3 separate regions of the Homo sapiens genome follow, and all the other regions are linked to region 1. The links are contacts of gene promoters, found by promoter capture Hi-C in human tissues and cell types (Jung and others, 2019). All regions are on one chromosome and are shown on one strand. Each heading gives the region's core, a stretch centred on a gene start or on the middle of the fragment in contact. The rest is flanking DNA. Distances are from core to core; before and after follow the strand shown.

What was found. The method cuts DNA at HindIII sites, captures the fragments that hold promoters and counts their contacts. A contact is called where the count stands out against the background at its distance.
Region 2: a contact is called between a fragment that was not itself captured here and the fragment with the promoter of SLC9A8 in region 1, in 1 of the 25 tissues and cell types used here (aorta).
Region 3: a fragment that was not itself captured here is called in contact with the fragment with the promoter of SLC9A8 in region 1 in 3 of the 25 tissues and cell types used here (bladder, dorsolateral prefrontal cortex and heart right ventricle).

Annotation. Positions count from the first base shown.
Region 1 is chr20:49,809,689-49,814,851 of GRCh38, reverse strand. SLC9A8 (solute carrier family 9 member A8) reads right to left here and starts at 2,024. Exons shown (of 16, transcript NM_015266.3): 1 at 1,904-2,024. The coding sequence starts at 1,929. RefSeq lists a silencer at 1,776-2,055 and an enhancer at 2,206-2,345. The HindIII fragment of the contact is 14,619 bases long and covers 1-5,163 here.
Region 2 is chr20:49,152,761-49,157,923 of GRCh38, reverse strand. It overlaps STAU1 (staufen double-stranded RNA binding protein 1), which reads left to right. Exons shown (of 14, transcript NM_017453.4): 4 at 3,853-3,991. Among named protein-coding and RNA genes, the nearest start is that of STAU1, 33 kb to the left of the region's middle. The HindIII fragment of the contact is 4,210 bases long and covers 480-4,689 here.
Region 3 is chr20:49,248,285-49,253,447 of GRCh38, reverse strand. ZNFX1 (zinc finger NFX1-type containing 1) reads left to right here. Exons shown (of 14, transcript NM_021035.3): 12 at 618-728; 13 at 1,826-1,921; 14 at 3,737-5,163. Among named protein-coding and RNA genes, the nearest start is that of ZNFX1, 27 kb to the left of the region's middle. The HindIII fragment of the contact is 3,897 bases long and covers 42-3,938 here.

The DNA of each region.
Region 1 (5,163 bases), core at 775-3,274:
TGCCTGCACAGCACAAGGGTACCAGTGGCCTCTGGTGCTTTTGAATACAGCCACTTAGAGGACAAGAACGGTAGGGAATCAGAGCTAGTATAGAAATGAAATGCTGCCTGCTCTTTGGCAAATACTGGGGGATTTAAAGGGAGGCAAACTGGAGTCTCATCACTTTCCAAGGTCCAACACTGTTTACTTAGCACCTTTGTTTCTCCAATTTACATTATTTTCCTGGCATTATTTCTGCAAGTTGAAGAAGCCACCTCAATTTGCCCAGTTGTTGATCTGGGCATGCCCTACCCTACTTTACAAAATCCCTCTCAGATTTCAAACGGCTCAAATGTCACCTCCTATTACCCCATCTTACCACACCCGAATTTACCCACTCCACTGCGTATGTTCCCACAGCTCTTTCACACTGTGCTGGGATTGTGAACTAGTACAATATTGCTATAATAACTGTTACTGTGACTACAAAAGTTATTATTTTCTGAGCACTGCTTTATTCCAGGAACTAGGTAACACACTACCTCTCATTTAATAGGTATAACATGTCTGATTGGGTATGATTACTTTCCGTTTTTTACTCATGCATAACTAAGGCTCAGGGAGGTTGCAAAACTTCACCAACATCTCAGTTAGTGGCAGAATCAAGCTGAAAACCCAAACTTGAAATCGCTGGGCTATATTGCCTCTTTTATTTTGTGCTGCTGAGGCTGTTTAGTGTCTGGGATGGAGCAGCTGCTCAATAAATAACTGATTACATGAAATGACCCCCACATGGCCAAGAAATATATTTGAAAAGTTATCAGGTGAAGGACTCCAGTATCAATGAAGGGGTTCCTTATTCATCTTCACATACTCATTCCACAAACAGTGATAGGGCATCTACAATCTGCAACAGACTCTGCCCTGCAGGTATGGAGATGACTTTTGGACTTGCCCAAAAGTACCTGGAGGACACAGCCCGTCCTTCCCCATCTCCCCTTGTCCAGCTAACCCCCTTCCTCTCTACACACCAGCCATGCTGCCTGTCACTCAAAAGCACTAAACTCTTTCTTGAGCCAGGCCTTTTGAACCTGATGTTATTTCTCCTATCCCTCATTCTGGTCATTCAAGTTTCTGCTGAATGTCACTTTTTCCTGAGTGGACTCCCCAACCTTAACTCTATTTTGCTTCCTTCAGAACACTTAACCCATTCATGCCAGAGGTTGCAATTTTTAGAACTGCAGACGTGAGAAAAATCAGACCTTGGCGATGACCTTGAGCAGTAGGATATAAATAACTCCCACATGCTTAGCGTTCCAATAATGGAACACTAGGCACAAATAACGTTAATTAATCACGATCTGAAACCACCTTGACTAATTATGGTCTTCTTTTCCCACTAGAATGGAAGCTCCCAGAGAGCGGCTCCTGGTCGGCCTCCTTTCCTACCACCTGCCCAGGGCCTGGAATTGAGTAGATGGCTAACAGTTAATGACTAAATGAAACTTAGTGAAGGAGAAAGACATGAAAACTGATCGTTATACAGGAGGCGACTGGCTACGTAGGAGGTGGGTGTGGAGAACCCGGACGACTTCCTGGAGGAGGCGGAAGAGGGCTCAGTAACCATGAGATTACCGAAAACTGGGAAAGTAAATATGGTTTGTATTTTCCGCAAGACAGCTCTCCGGGCCTGCGCTGGGCAGTAGATTCCCAGCTCGAGGGACCGATCTCCAGGGGAAAGCAAGGCCCACCTGGGCCCAGGCCCGCCCATCCCGCCCTCCTCGTAGGCACCGGCTTGGTCAGTCCTGGCCAACCAGCAAAAGAAGCTCCGCCTTCCGGGGCCGGAGGGCGGCCTGAGGCGCTCGCTGTCACCCGCCGGGGCCCAGCCCCGCCGCCTCCGCCGCCCGGGAAAAAGCCCACTCACTCCTCTTCCGCCATCTTCTCCCCCATCCTGCGGAGCTTCCAGGACCACCGAGTTCGGAGCCGCGGGGCTAGCAGGACCCGCTTTTGCTTCCGGCTTCCGCTGGAGGCGCGGGCGGGCGAGCGGGAGGCGGGGCCTCGGCCGCGCGAGGGCGGCCCTCTGTCCCTCCGTCTCAGTGGCCCGAGGGTGGGAGAAAGCGCGTGGGAGGATTGCTTCTTAGTCTCTCCCGGGGCTTTCGGGACGCTTGTCCGGCCTGGGCCACATGACCACCTGGGACCGAGAGATTCCGGCTTTTCCCCATCACAGGGCGGGGACGTTTTGGGGAAACTCCTCTGAGGTCACTGTGACTCACCCTGAGGGCAAGCAAGCACCCTCCACCCAGTGCCCTCGACTTCGCTGTGCTAAAAGAGTTTGAAAAAGGATGCCCAGCCTGCAGCCTAAGCGGAGAGACCCCAGGGGGACACTTCCCCACCCGAGCCTTAGTTTCCTTCGGCTGTGGAGAGGAATAACCGCCTGGACTTGGCAGGACTGTGCAGCATTCCATCTGTAAACATGTGTTGAGTTCAGACTATATGCCTAGCGTTAAAAAGGATGCTGATGATCTAGGGGTGGACCATTCATTAAGGGGTTCATTGATTCACCACATGCTTAGTAGATGCTTCTATGTGCCTAGCAGTGACCGGTGGGGTGGGGATGCAGGGAGGAACAAGGTGAGGTGAGAGGGGTAGGTGAGACCCCCATCGGGAGGACTGGGGCTGAGGACTTTGAACTTTATTGGCCGCTTCTGTTGCTACCTCCCTTCCTGATCCAAGGCACTCTATCTCATCTGGATAATTGCAACGGCTCCATTCAGGGTCTCTGACTCACCCCTGTTCCTTACGGACTTCCACACAGCAGCTTAACTCATCACTCCTCTGCTTAGACCCTCCAATGGCTTCCAATCTCCAGAGAAAAAAAAAACGTGGGGAATGTACAGGACTCAATCCTGCCCCCTTTTCCCCTCTGAAGTGTGTGGGAGGGGGGCATGGGGCTCTATATCTCCCCTCCCACACACTTTGACTTTCCACTATTGTCCCAGACTCACCAGGAATACTTCCACCGTTGCACTTACTGAGCCTTTATCTAGAATGCTCTTCTTCTGGGTAGCTCTTTGGCTCCCACCTCTCCTACGTTTGGCCTTTTATTTAACCCTTATCTTGTGTGTTAGACCTCCTTGACCACCCTACTTAAAATCCAAGGCCCCCCGCCTTCCCTAAACTATTTTTCCACATGACACCTAACCTACCATATGTTTTACTCATACACTTGTTTGTTAACCATCTCCCTCCATGAGAACGGAAGCTTCATGAATGCAGAAATTTTTGTCTGTTTTGTTCTCCATTTTATCTGCAATGCCTACAACAGTACCTGGCACATAGTAGACACTCAATAATAAATAATCATTGAGTAAATAAATCAGTTAATTCTAGCACACCTAGAAGGGTTTTGAACTGAGAAGTAACCTAAGCTTTGCTGCCTGTTGGGAGTTGACTGGGGATTGGCGAGAGAGAGAGGATGGAAGCCCCAAAGCCAGCAAGGAGGCTTTTGCAATAATCTAGGTGACAGCTGATGGCAGTCTGGATGAAAGTAATACGGTGGAGGTGGCAGGAATGGTTGGACTCCTGGACGCATACTGAAGACAAGGTTTGCTGACGGACTATGGCGTATAAAAGAGGAGTTAAGCATGGTGTCAGGGTTTTGGCCCCGAGGAACTGGGTAGAGAAGAAATCTGGCTCTAACCTTGGGTTCTCCATCCTCTGCAGTCTCTTAAGACTGCTAAAGCTGACTGAGAGAATGTCATCAGGATCCACCAATGTTTATTGAGTAATAATAAACTTGCTTCCTTCCTGCAGGTGTGGTGTTGGGCTATTGTTTCCTTAATTCTTTACATAGCTTTGAGGTAGATACCATCATTATCCACAGACATAGAGAAATCAAGGCACTTGCCTGCGGTCCCACAGCTAGCAAATGACAAGGCTGGGATTCAGGCACAGAGCCAGTGTTTTTAAACCAGTAGCCCTGCTACTCTCCACTGCCTTAATTTCTCTGGCTCTTAAATGGGACTAATAACCTACTCTCCTCCGTTAGCACAGAGCCTGGCGGGAATGACCTGGTCTACAAAGGATTGAGAGTGGGGTTCTCTCTGGCCACACTTGTCAACTGAGGGCTTGAGGCTACCATTTTCTACCAGCACCAATAAACCCCACATGGCTGGAATTCGCCAAGCTGGAAACTCCACATAGCTGGAATTCACTACTCTTCTCTATCCGTTGTCTTGCCTACTGCCCTTGGCCTCCTCTGGGCCTACCACTAACCATGAGGCTGCAGAGAACATTCTCTCATGCCCATGGGTGAGTCTTTGGCTCTTCTCACCTATTCCTGAGAATGAATCTAAAATCCCTGGTCCTTCCCCGAGGAAGGTGAATAAAGCCATTCAACATGCAGTTTCTGGGCTCCAATGCTGTGTCAGGCCGAGAAGGAGGCAGCATAAGGCACCACAAATTCTGGTGCCAGACAGTGCTGGTTCCCAACCCCTCCTCAGGACCTACAGTCTCCGTGACCCTGAGAGGCTACAGCACCCTCAGAGCCTCAGGGCCCCCTCAATTTTTTTTTCTTTTTTTCTTTAATAACGCTTCTCTTTAGAAGACTGTTACAAGATTAGAGAGAAAACTGCCTTTGCTCTCCATTGTCTCTGCCTAGACAGCTCTGCCCGCTATCTCCAGTCTTCTTGTTATTCATGTCTCAGCTTAAATGTCCCCTCCTCAGGGAAGCCCTCCCTGACCAGTCTCTGTAAAGAGTCAGACAGTAAATACTGAAGGCTTTGTGGGCCTTACTATCTCTGTAGCAACAAATCAACTCTGTAGTTTGCATGCAGCATAAATAATATAAATAGGCATAGCTGTGTTCCAACAAAACTTTATGGATACTGAAATTTGAATTTTGCATTACTTTCACATGTCATGAAATACCATTCTTCTTTGGATTTTTTTTTTTTTTTTTTTTTGAGATGGAGTGTCTGTCACCCAGGCTGGAGTGCAATGGCACGATCTCGGCTCATTACAACCTGCACCTCCCAGGTTCAAGCAATTCTCCTGCCTCAGCCTCCCAAGTAGCTGAGACTACAGGTATGTGCCACCATGCCCTGCTAATTTTTGTATTTTTAGTGGAGATAGGGTTTCACCATGTTGGCCAGCATGGTCTCAATCTCTTGATCTCGTGATCCG
Region 2 (5,163 bases), core at 1,335-3,834, 660 kb after region 1:
AATAAAAATAGAAACGCTCATGCCTTAAATCCTATCACTTTGGAAGGCTGAGGCGAGAGGATCACTGGAGCCCAGGAGTTTAAGACCAGCCTAGGCAACATAGGGAGACCCTGCCTCCGCAAAAATTAAAAAATTACCCAGGTATGGGCCGGGCATGGTGGCTCACGCCTGTAATCCCAGCACTTTGAGAGTCCAAGGCGGGCAGTTCACAAGGTCAAGAGACCAAGACCATCCTGGCCAACATGGTGAAACCCCATCCCTACTAAAAATTCAAAAATTAGCTGGGCGTGGTGGTGCATGCCTGTAGTCCCAGCTACTCAGGAGGCTGAGGCAGGAGAATCGCTTGAACCTGGGAGGCGGAGGTTGCAGTGAGCTGAGATCATGCCACTACACTCCAGCCTGGCGACAGAGCAAGACTGTCTCAAAAAAATAAAAAAAAAAAATTAGCCAAGTATGGTGGTGTGTGCCTGTAGTCCCAGCTACTCAGGAGGTTGAGGTGGGAGGATTATTTCAACCCAGGAGGCTGCAGTGAGCTATGATTGTGCCATTTGAGCTCCAGCCTGGACAGCAGAGCAAGACCCCATTTCAAAAACTGAAAAAAAGGGTGGTTATGTTTTCAAACAAGAGCCCACAAACACATTGCAGCATCAAAACAAACATTGTCTTAATTTGTGTGAAGTACTGCTGTGTGTTTAAATCAAGTTTGCAAAATATCTTTCATGAGAAGTAATTGGAAGAGAATTTTGAGGCTGGACGTGGTGGGTCATGCCTGTAATCCCAGCACTTTGGGAGACTGAGGCAGGTGGATCACTTGAGGTCAGGAGTTCGAGACCAGCCTGGCCAACATGGTGAAACCCTGTCTCTACTAAAAGTACAGAAATTAGCCGGGCATGGTGGCAGGTGCCTGTAATCCCAGCTACTCGGGAGACTGAGGCAGGAGAATTTCTTGAACCCAGGAGGTGGAGGTTGCATTGAGCCAAGATCACACCACTGCACTCTAACCTGGGGACAGAGTGAGACTGTGTCTCTTAAAAAAAAAAAAAAATTTCAGTGCATACACACACAATCTCTTTTTTTTGTTGTTGTTTATAAAAAACAACAAAAAAGGATAAGAAGGGGATGACAGGATGAATTATCAAGATAAGACCAGGCCTCTTAAACCATGACCATAGAAAGTGTTCAAGGTTCAAGTGACATATTACAGTCAATGTCAGGTTTCATGAATTTGAGAGCTCACACTTTTCATTTCTAGGAATTTACAGTACTGCTGACACTTGGAAATCAGCAATGGGGAGCTGAGTGAACTGGTATTAAAAAGGTCAAACACACAGCTGCTGCTAAAGCTTTGGAGGGAACAAAATTTCCTAAGCCCATAGTCAGCCCTTTTGGTAGCGAAGGAAGGAATCCAGGTCTTATGCATGGGCCAAACAGGTACCTTTCAAAAGTGTGTCTAGAGGTACCATGTAGTATGTATATGAATGGTTTCTTAACTTGTTGATTTTGAAAGCACAGATTCTACACTACCAGTGACAAATGCTTATTTTTTAGGAATCCTTAACCTCATTGTAAAGCAGTGGTTTCCAATCTATGATGCCTTAACGCCTGACAATCTGGAAAGGCGGTCATAGGAAGGATGGCGGGTGACCAGATAATTTCAAAGATTTCCGAAGTTTAATGAAAATATATTTTTGATAAGAGTGTATAGATTAGCAAGAATATAAGTTTAATTTAGAGTCACATCAAGTCAGTGTGGTAATATTGATTGTAATTTTGTTGGTCAGAAGTGCTTATTGCCAGTTGTATGTCTCTTAGTTATTAAAAAGAATGAGAAAAATGTAAATATTACTTAAATACAAGCCAGCAGGTAGTATCTCCTCAGACAAGGAGCCCATTCAGGGAGCATACTAATCAAGAAGGCATGGCTGGTGAAGGGTTGGGGATCAGTGACCTGGAGGCTGTGTCATTAATGGCTGTTTTAGCAGAGACCCCCTCACATGCATGAAGTCATCCCAGGTCTTCGTATGTAGGAAGGAATCTGGGAAGTTACCAGTCACATCTTTCTTGTTACTTTTGATTTCTTTGCAGTATACTTTCTTCATGTTTATTCTCTATTGCAGACAAATTCTGTGGATCAGAGCTGCTCTTAAAATGATTCAGACTGTACTTAAAATGCAATTATATGAATTTTGTAAAAAATATAATTCTAATGCAAGGAAGAGAGAGATCTGTAATTCATGTGGCCCTCTGTGCAAACCCCAAAGATATTCTTATAGATTTGATTCATGCATTAAATTTAGTTGAACCAGTTATAGTACAGAATCAGGTCTTTTTTATTTCTCTCTATATACATCCTAAAGAGGCATTTTAAAGTGGATTTTTATGTGCATTTAGATTTTGCCATTTCTAGTGTTCTGTTTTTGATATGAAAGTGTTGTTTTTAAATATTGTGCACTGACACTAATCTTTCCAGGCTGGTTTTCTTTTTAAATGGTTTTTAAAGGTTTATGGATTGGATGAACTGAAAGAAAAAAAAATTGGAAAATGAATAGCATGTATTTTCTGAAGTTGATAATTTTGAGATAACTTGTTGTGTATGAAAATGGAACTCATTTTCGTAGCAAGTATGACCACAGGTCAAATTCATTAGAAATGTCAAGAATGGAAATACCTGAATATTTTGTGGGCCTTGTGTGACTTCTGTGAAGAGAATTGGGTTGCCACCTCCTCACTGATTTTTCACCTTTAAGTTGCACATCATGTTGTATTGTAACTCTTTGAGTGTGCTTTGTGTTTTTTGAACTCCTCTGGGGCAGGAATTGTGTTTCTTTTTTTTTTTTAAGACAGAGTTTTGCTCTTGTTTCCTCATCTGGAGTACAGTGACGCAATCTCGACTCACTGCAACCTCTGCTTCCTGGGTTCAGGCGATTCTCCTGCCTCAGCCTCCTGAGTAGATGGGATTACAGGCATGCGCCACCATGCCTGGCTAATTTTTTGTATTTTTAGTAGAAACGGGGTTTCACCGTGTTAGCCAGGCTGGTCTCGAACTCCTGACCTCAGGTGATCCACCCGCCTCGGCCTTCCAAAGTGCTGGGATTACAGGTGTGAGCCACCCTCACTGCAAGGTCCGCCTCCCAGGTTCACACCATTCTTCTGCCTCAGCCTCCTGAGTAGCTGGGACTGCAGGCACCCGCCACCATGCCTGGCTAATTTTTTGTATTTTTTAGTAGAGATAGGGTTTCACCATGTTAGCCAAGATGGTCTCGATACCCTGACCTTGTGATCCTCCTGCCTTGGCCTCCCAAAGTGCTGGGATTACAGGCGTGAGCCACCACGCCTGGCCAGGAATTGTGTTTCTTAAGCTTAGCACAGTGCTTTGCATCCAGTTAGTAATGTAATAAATGCATCGTTCAATACTGTGTACGGACATACTTCTGAGTGCAAGCCAATAATCCTGTAAATCAGTACAACCAAGGTTATATTGATTAAGTATTCTCAAACAGTAAAACAATTTGGACATTTACATGGGATTTTTTAATCGTGAAATTTGATGTGTTTTGGAACTTATTTCTGACAGCTGTACCATATAGCTTTCACTGATAATGTCTTGGGTTAAATTGTGGCTCCTCTGGTAACCCTCAGAGTAGATTTTGTGCTGTCGACTGTGTATAAATATCTAGAAATCACAGCATATTCTTGGATTTCCTTGTCTGATGCCTAGCAGTGAGCCACCCAGGTCCTTTTATGTAAAGTATCATGAATCCAATTAGCAGAAAGCATGCTATTACATTTTATTTTAGTGAGTATCATTCTCATACCAGAAAAAAACAGTTCTTTGTCGATTCTTTCTTGCAGAAAGCATAACCCCTACTGTAGAACTAAATGCACTGTGCATGAAACTTGGAAAAAAACCAATGTATAAGCCTGTTGACCCTTACTCTCGGATGCAGTCCACCTATAACTACAACATGAGAGGAGGTGCTTATCCCCCGAGGTATGTGTTTTTTTTTTTTTTTTTTTGTAAAATACAGGAGAAAACGTGTCTGATCTTTTACATAAACCAGTACCTCTAGATTGTGGAGGGAGTAATGATTTGGTTTGGGCCTGCCAAGTGTTGAAGTTGGTCTTAATTACTCTTGTGCCTTTGTGCCCCTCCCCCGCCTTTTCTTTTTTTTCTTTCTTTCTTTTTTTTTTTTTTTTTTTTTTTTTTTTTTTTGAGACAGAGTCTTGCTCTGTCACCCAGGCTGGAGTGCAGTGGTGCAGTCTCGGCTCACTGTATCCTCTGCCTCCTGGGTTCAAGTGAGGAGGCTGTCTCAGCCTCCCGAATAGCTGGGATTACAGGCACCTGCCACCACGCCTGGCTGATTTTTTTTTGTATTTTTTAGTAGAGACGGGGTTTTGCCATGTTGGCTGGGGTGGTCTTGAACTCCGGACCTCAGATGATCTGCCCACCTTGGCCTCCCAAAGTGCTGGGATTACAGGCGTGAGCCACCACACCTGGCTGCGCCTCTTTTTTTTTTTTTTAATTCATTGAGACAGGGTCTCCGTATGTTGCCCAGACTGGTCTTGAACTTCTGGGCTCAAGGAGTCCTCCTGTCTTGGCCTCCCGCAGTGCTAGGATTAAAGTGTGAGCCACCACACCCGGCCCTTTGTGCTTCTTTTTTTTTTTTTTTTTCTGAGACGGAGTCTCGCTCTGTTGCCCAGGCTGGAGTGCAGTGGCATGATCTCGGCTCACTGCAAGCTCTGCCTCCCGGGTTCATGCTATTCTCCTGCCTCAGCCTCCCAAGTAGCTGGGACTACAGGCGCCTGCCACCACACCCGGCTAATTTTTTGTATTTTTAGTAGAGACGGGGTTTCACCTTGTTAGCCAGGATAGTCTCAATCTCCTGACCTCATGATCCGCCCACCTCGGCCTCCCAAAGTGCTGGGATTACAGGCATGAGCCACCACGCCCGGCTCCTTTGTGCTTCTTTAACTACTGCTCTTGGGTAGGGCCTGAGCATATTTCTTGCTGGCAGTGTGGCTTGTGCCCTCAAGCAGCCTGGCTAAAGATAACCCTTGTAACTGCTTTGTGTAACTGAATCATATTTAAACATGATTCCCATAGCATCATGATTCCTGCAAGACAATGATTCCCAGCATTTGTAGATTACCTGATTATTGGGT
Region 3 (5,163 bases), core at 741-3,240, 560 kb after region 1:
TTTACCTAGTCCACCATGGCCTCTTGAGTGGACTGTATTGTAATAGCATGCTCCTCAGTCTCTCTGCTTCCATTTTTGCTACCTTTTAATGCACTCTACATAAAGGAGCCAAAGTGAATTTTTTTAAAAAAAAGGTAGATAGATAATATCACTTTCCAGCTGAAAACCCTCCAGTGGTGTCCCATTGCACTTGCATAAAAATCAAGCTTCTTAAAGTGGCCCACAAAGGCTTATGTGATCAGGTTTCAGCTTATTTCTCTGACTTCATCCCATTTGCTCTTGGTGTCCCACTGTGTCCTTTCCGCTCCCCATTATGGATCTTGCTTTTCAAATGACTGAAGAACTGGCAACTTCTGCCATGCTAGTGTCTACTCAGATGTCACTGTTCAGAGGCCTAGCTAGAAAAAACCCACCATGGGGCACTCTGTCATATCACCTTTAGTTCTACTAATCCTTAACCCTTGTCATTATTAATCCTTAAACTGTGAGTATGTAGAATAGTGCCTGGCACATAGTCAACACTTGAAAAACATTTGATGGTTGGTTGGATGGATGGAAGTATGGATGGTTAAATGACTTTATCAGTAGAGAATCCTCAGCCATGTTTCTCTTCTCAGCTGCGCCCCAGTGCCAACGTGTATGATCTGGCCAAGAACTTCAACCTTGAGGTGTCCCTTTTTGAACGGCTAGTGAAAGTAAACATTCCCTTTGTCCGTCTGAATTACCAGGTGAGAAGCTGGGCCTCTGTTGTTACCAAATGCCCAGGAGAAAGCTCCTGGGAAGCTGCCAGTTGCCAGCAAAAGAGGTCTCATATAAATAAAAATAATTTAATACTGAAATGACTCTGTCAACCTTACATTTTCTGTTTTAAAACACCACAAGATCACCGTGTTGAGTTTTTGTTGGACAAAGGAGCTGTTTATGTTATGCTTTCTCCTTATTTTTTTCAAATGATAATCTCTATCTCTCTAGATTTTCTTTCCTTTTTTTTTTTAAGAAAAATAGAGGCCAGGTGCGGTGGCTCACACCTGCAATCCCAGCACTTTGGGAGGCCAAGGTGGGCAGATCACCTGAGGTCAGGAGTTCGAGACCAGCCTGGCCAACATGGTGAAAGCCTGTCTCTACTAAAAATGCAAAAATTAGCCGGGCATGGTGGTGGGCACCTGTAATCCCAGCTACTCAGGAGGCTGAGGCAGGAGAATTGCTTGAACCTGGGAGGCGGTGGTTGCAGTGAGCCGAGATCATGCCACTGTACTCCAGCCTGGCAATAGAGCTAGATTCTGTCTCAGAAAAAAAAAAAAGAAAAGAAAAATAGAGGCCAGGTGTGGTGGCTCACACCTTAATCCTAGCACTTTGGGAGGCCAAGGCGGGCGGATCCCTTGAGTTCAGGAGCTCGTGACCAGCCTCGCCAACATGGCGAAACACTGTCTCTGCTAAAAATACAAAAAATTAGCCAGGCGTGGTGCCTCATGCCTGTAGTCCCAGCTACTTTTGGAAGGCTGAGGCAGGAGAATCACTAGAACCTGGGAGGCAGAGGTTGCAATGAGCTGAGATTGCGCCACTGCACCCCAGCCTTGGTGACACGTCTCAAAAAAAAAAAAAAAAGAAAGAAAAATAGAGATGAGGGCTCACTATGTTGCCAGGCTGGTCTTGAAATCCTGACCTGAAGTGATCCTCCTGCCTTGGCTTCCCAAAGTGATGGGATTACAGATACAAGCCATCACAACTGGCCCTCCCTAAATTTTCTAACAGCAACCTTATCTTTAAAGAAATTGTCCGTGTGTGCTCTGCCCATGTTTCTAATGACATGCATGTGTTTTTTCAGCACCGTATGTGCCCTGAAATTGCCCGCCTTTTGACCCCCCACATTTACCAGGATCTGGAGAATCATCCATCTGTTCTTAAGTATGAGAAGATTAAGGTGAGTCTGTCTTACCCGATCTTTCTTGGATGGTGTCAGCAACCTAAAAAGGCTATAATTTCCTCAAGATAAAAAAGCTTTTCAGCGGCCAGGCGCGGTGGCTCACACCTGTAATCCCAGCACTTTGGGAAGCTGAGGTGGGCAGATCACTTGAGGTCAGAGTTCGAGACCAGCCTAACTAACATGGTGAAACCCTGTCTCTACTAAAATACAAAAACTAGCTGAGCATGGTGGCAAGCACCTGTAATCCCAGCTACTCAGAAGGCTGAGGTGGGAGAATTGCTTGAACCCAGGAGGTGGAGGTTGCAGTGAGCTGAGATCGTGCCATGCTACTGCACTCCAGGCTGGGCAGCGGAGAGAGACTCCCTGTCAAAAAAAAAAAGAAAGCCTTCAGAAGGGAGTAGAGCCAGCTTTTTAAAAGCTGGTTACTGGGAGAAAATTGAAATACAGACCAGGGTTTTTTAATCCCAATTCTGCCTGTTAGCCATGTAACCTTAAGCAAGTTATATAAGAATTCTGGCCAGGCGCGGTGGCTTACGCCTGTAATCCCAGAGCTTTGTGAGGCCGAGGCGGGCGAATCACAAGGTCAAGGGATCAAGACCATCCTGGCCAACATGGTGAAATCCCATCTCTACTAAAAATACAAAAATTAGCTGGGTGCGGTGGCATGTGCCTGGCTGGGTGTGGTGGCTCATGCCTATAATCTCAGCACTTTCGGAGGCCAAGATGGGTGGATCACCTGAGGTCAGGAGTTGGAGACTAGCCTGGCCAACATGGTGAAACCCCGTCTCTACTAAAAATACAAAAATTAACTGGGCATGGTGGTGGGCGCCTGTAATCCCAGCTACTTGGGAGGCTGAGGCGAGAGGATCGCTTGAACCTGGGAAGTGGAGGTTGTGGTGAGCCAACAAGACCGTGCCACTGTACTTCAGCCTACGCAACAAGAGTGAACTCTGTCTCAAAAAAAAAAAATTGTCAGCTGAGGCCAAGAGTTCAAAACCAGGCTGGGGCACATAGCAAGACTGTCTCTTTTTTTAAAATAAATAAATAAATTCTGAGTATCAGGTTCTTCTGGACAATAAGAATAATGGCTCCTGCCATATCCCATTACTGTATGGAAGGAGGTAATGTATATAAAGCAGTCAGCACAGTGGAGTGCTCAGTAAGTTAGCTGCTCTGTCATTATCATCATCCTCCTCACAGCACTGCTTGTTCTTTCAGCTATAATGGTTGGATTGTGGATGGCTGTTTTATTTTCTATTTTTTTTGAGATGGAGTCTCACTCTGTCTGTCACCCAGGCTGGAGTGCAGTGGCATGATCTCGGCTCACTGCAATCTCTGCATCCTGGGTTCAAACTATTCTCCCATCTCAGCCTCCTGAATAGCTGGGATTATAGGCGCCCACTACCACGCCCAGCTAATTTTTGTATTTTTAGTAGAGACGGGGTTTCACCATGTGGGCCAGGCTGGTCTCAAACTCCTGACCTCAGGTGATCCACCCACCTCGGCCTCTCAAAGTGCTGGGATTACAGACGTGAGCCACTGTACCCAGCCAGCTTTTTTAAATATTAACATCAAACAAGTATCTTGAAAACTGAAAGAGACATAATCTTTTATTTTCATAACTTGCTGTGGCCCCAAAATGAAGCACACAATGACTAACTAAAGAACTAAAGATAGTGATGTTGAGTGGACAAAAAGCTTTCCAAGGTCTCTCTCTGGAGCAGAGTAAGTGGCCAGTGCATGTCAAGAGAGGAAGAAAAAAACAAGTGCCATGAGTGAACCTTTTAACATGTCACTTCTTTTCCCTGTCAGGGGGTGTCTTCCAACCTTTTCTTTGTAGAACACAACTTTCCTGAACAGGAAATCCAAGAGGGCAAAAGCCATCAGAACCAGCATGAGGCTCACTTTGTGGTAGAGCTGTGCAAGTACTTCCTGTGCCAGGAATACCTGCCTTCCCAGATCACCATCCTCACTACCTATACCGGGCAGCTCTTCTGCCTGCGCAAACTGATGCCTGCCAAGACATTTGCTGGCGTCAGGGTCCATGTTGTGGACAAATACCAAGGGGAAGAGAATGACATCATCCTCCTCTCGCTAGTGCGGAGCAACCAAGAAGGCAAGGTGGGTTTTCTGCAGATATCCAACCGCATCTGTGTGGCCTTGTCCCGAGCCAAGAAGGGAATGTACTGCATCGGAAACATGCAGATGCTGGCCAAGGTGCCCCTGTGGAGCAAGATCATTCATACACTTCGAGAGAACAATCAAATAGGCCCCATGCTCCGGCTCTGCTGCCAGAACCACCCTGAAACCCACACCTTAGTATCCAAAGCTTCTGACTTCCAAAAAGTACCCGAAGGAGGCTGCAGCCTGCCCTGCGAGTTCCGCCTGGGCTGTGGGCATGTCTGCACCCGTGCCTGCCACCCTTATGACTCTTCACACAAGGAGTTCCAATGCATGAAGCCATGCCAGAAGGTCATCTGTCAGGAAGGGCACCGGTGTCCCCTTGTTTGCTTCCAGGAGTGTCAGCCTTGTCAGGTGAAGGTGCCCAAAACCATTCCTCGGTGCGGCCATGAACAAATGGTCCCTTGTTCCGTGCCTGAGTCAGATTTCTGCTGCCAGGAGCCTTGCTCCAAGTCTCTGAGATGTGGGCACAGATGCAGCCACCCATGTGGTGAGGACTGTGTGCAGCTGTGTTCAGAAATGGTCACCATAAAACTCAAGTGTGGGCACAGTCAACCGGTAAAATGTGGTCATGTGGAAGGCCTCCTGTATGGTGGTCTGCTAGTCAAGTGTACCACAAAGTGTGGCACTATCTTGGACTGCGGGCATCCTTGCCCAGGCTCCTGCCACAGCTGCTTCGAAGGGCGTTTCCATGAACGCTGTCAGCAGCCCTGCAAGCGCCTGCTTATCTGCTCACACAAGTGCCAGGAACCATGCATTGGTGAGTGCCCACCCTGCCAGCGGACCTGTCAGAACCGCTGTGTCCACAGCCAGTGCAAGAAGAAATGTGGGGAGCTGTGTAGTCCCTGCGTGGAACCCTGTGTCTGGCGCTGCCAGCACTACCAGTGCACCAAACTCTGCTCTGAGCCCTGCAACCGACCCCCATGCTATGTGCCTTGTACTAAGCTGCTAGTTTGTGGCCACCCCTGCATTGGTCTCTGTGGGGAGCCATGCCCCAAGAAATGCCGGATCTGCCACATGGATGAGGTCACCCAAATATTCTTTGGCTTTGAGGATGA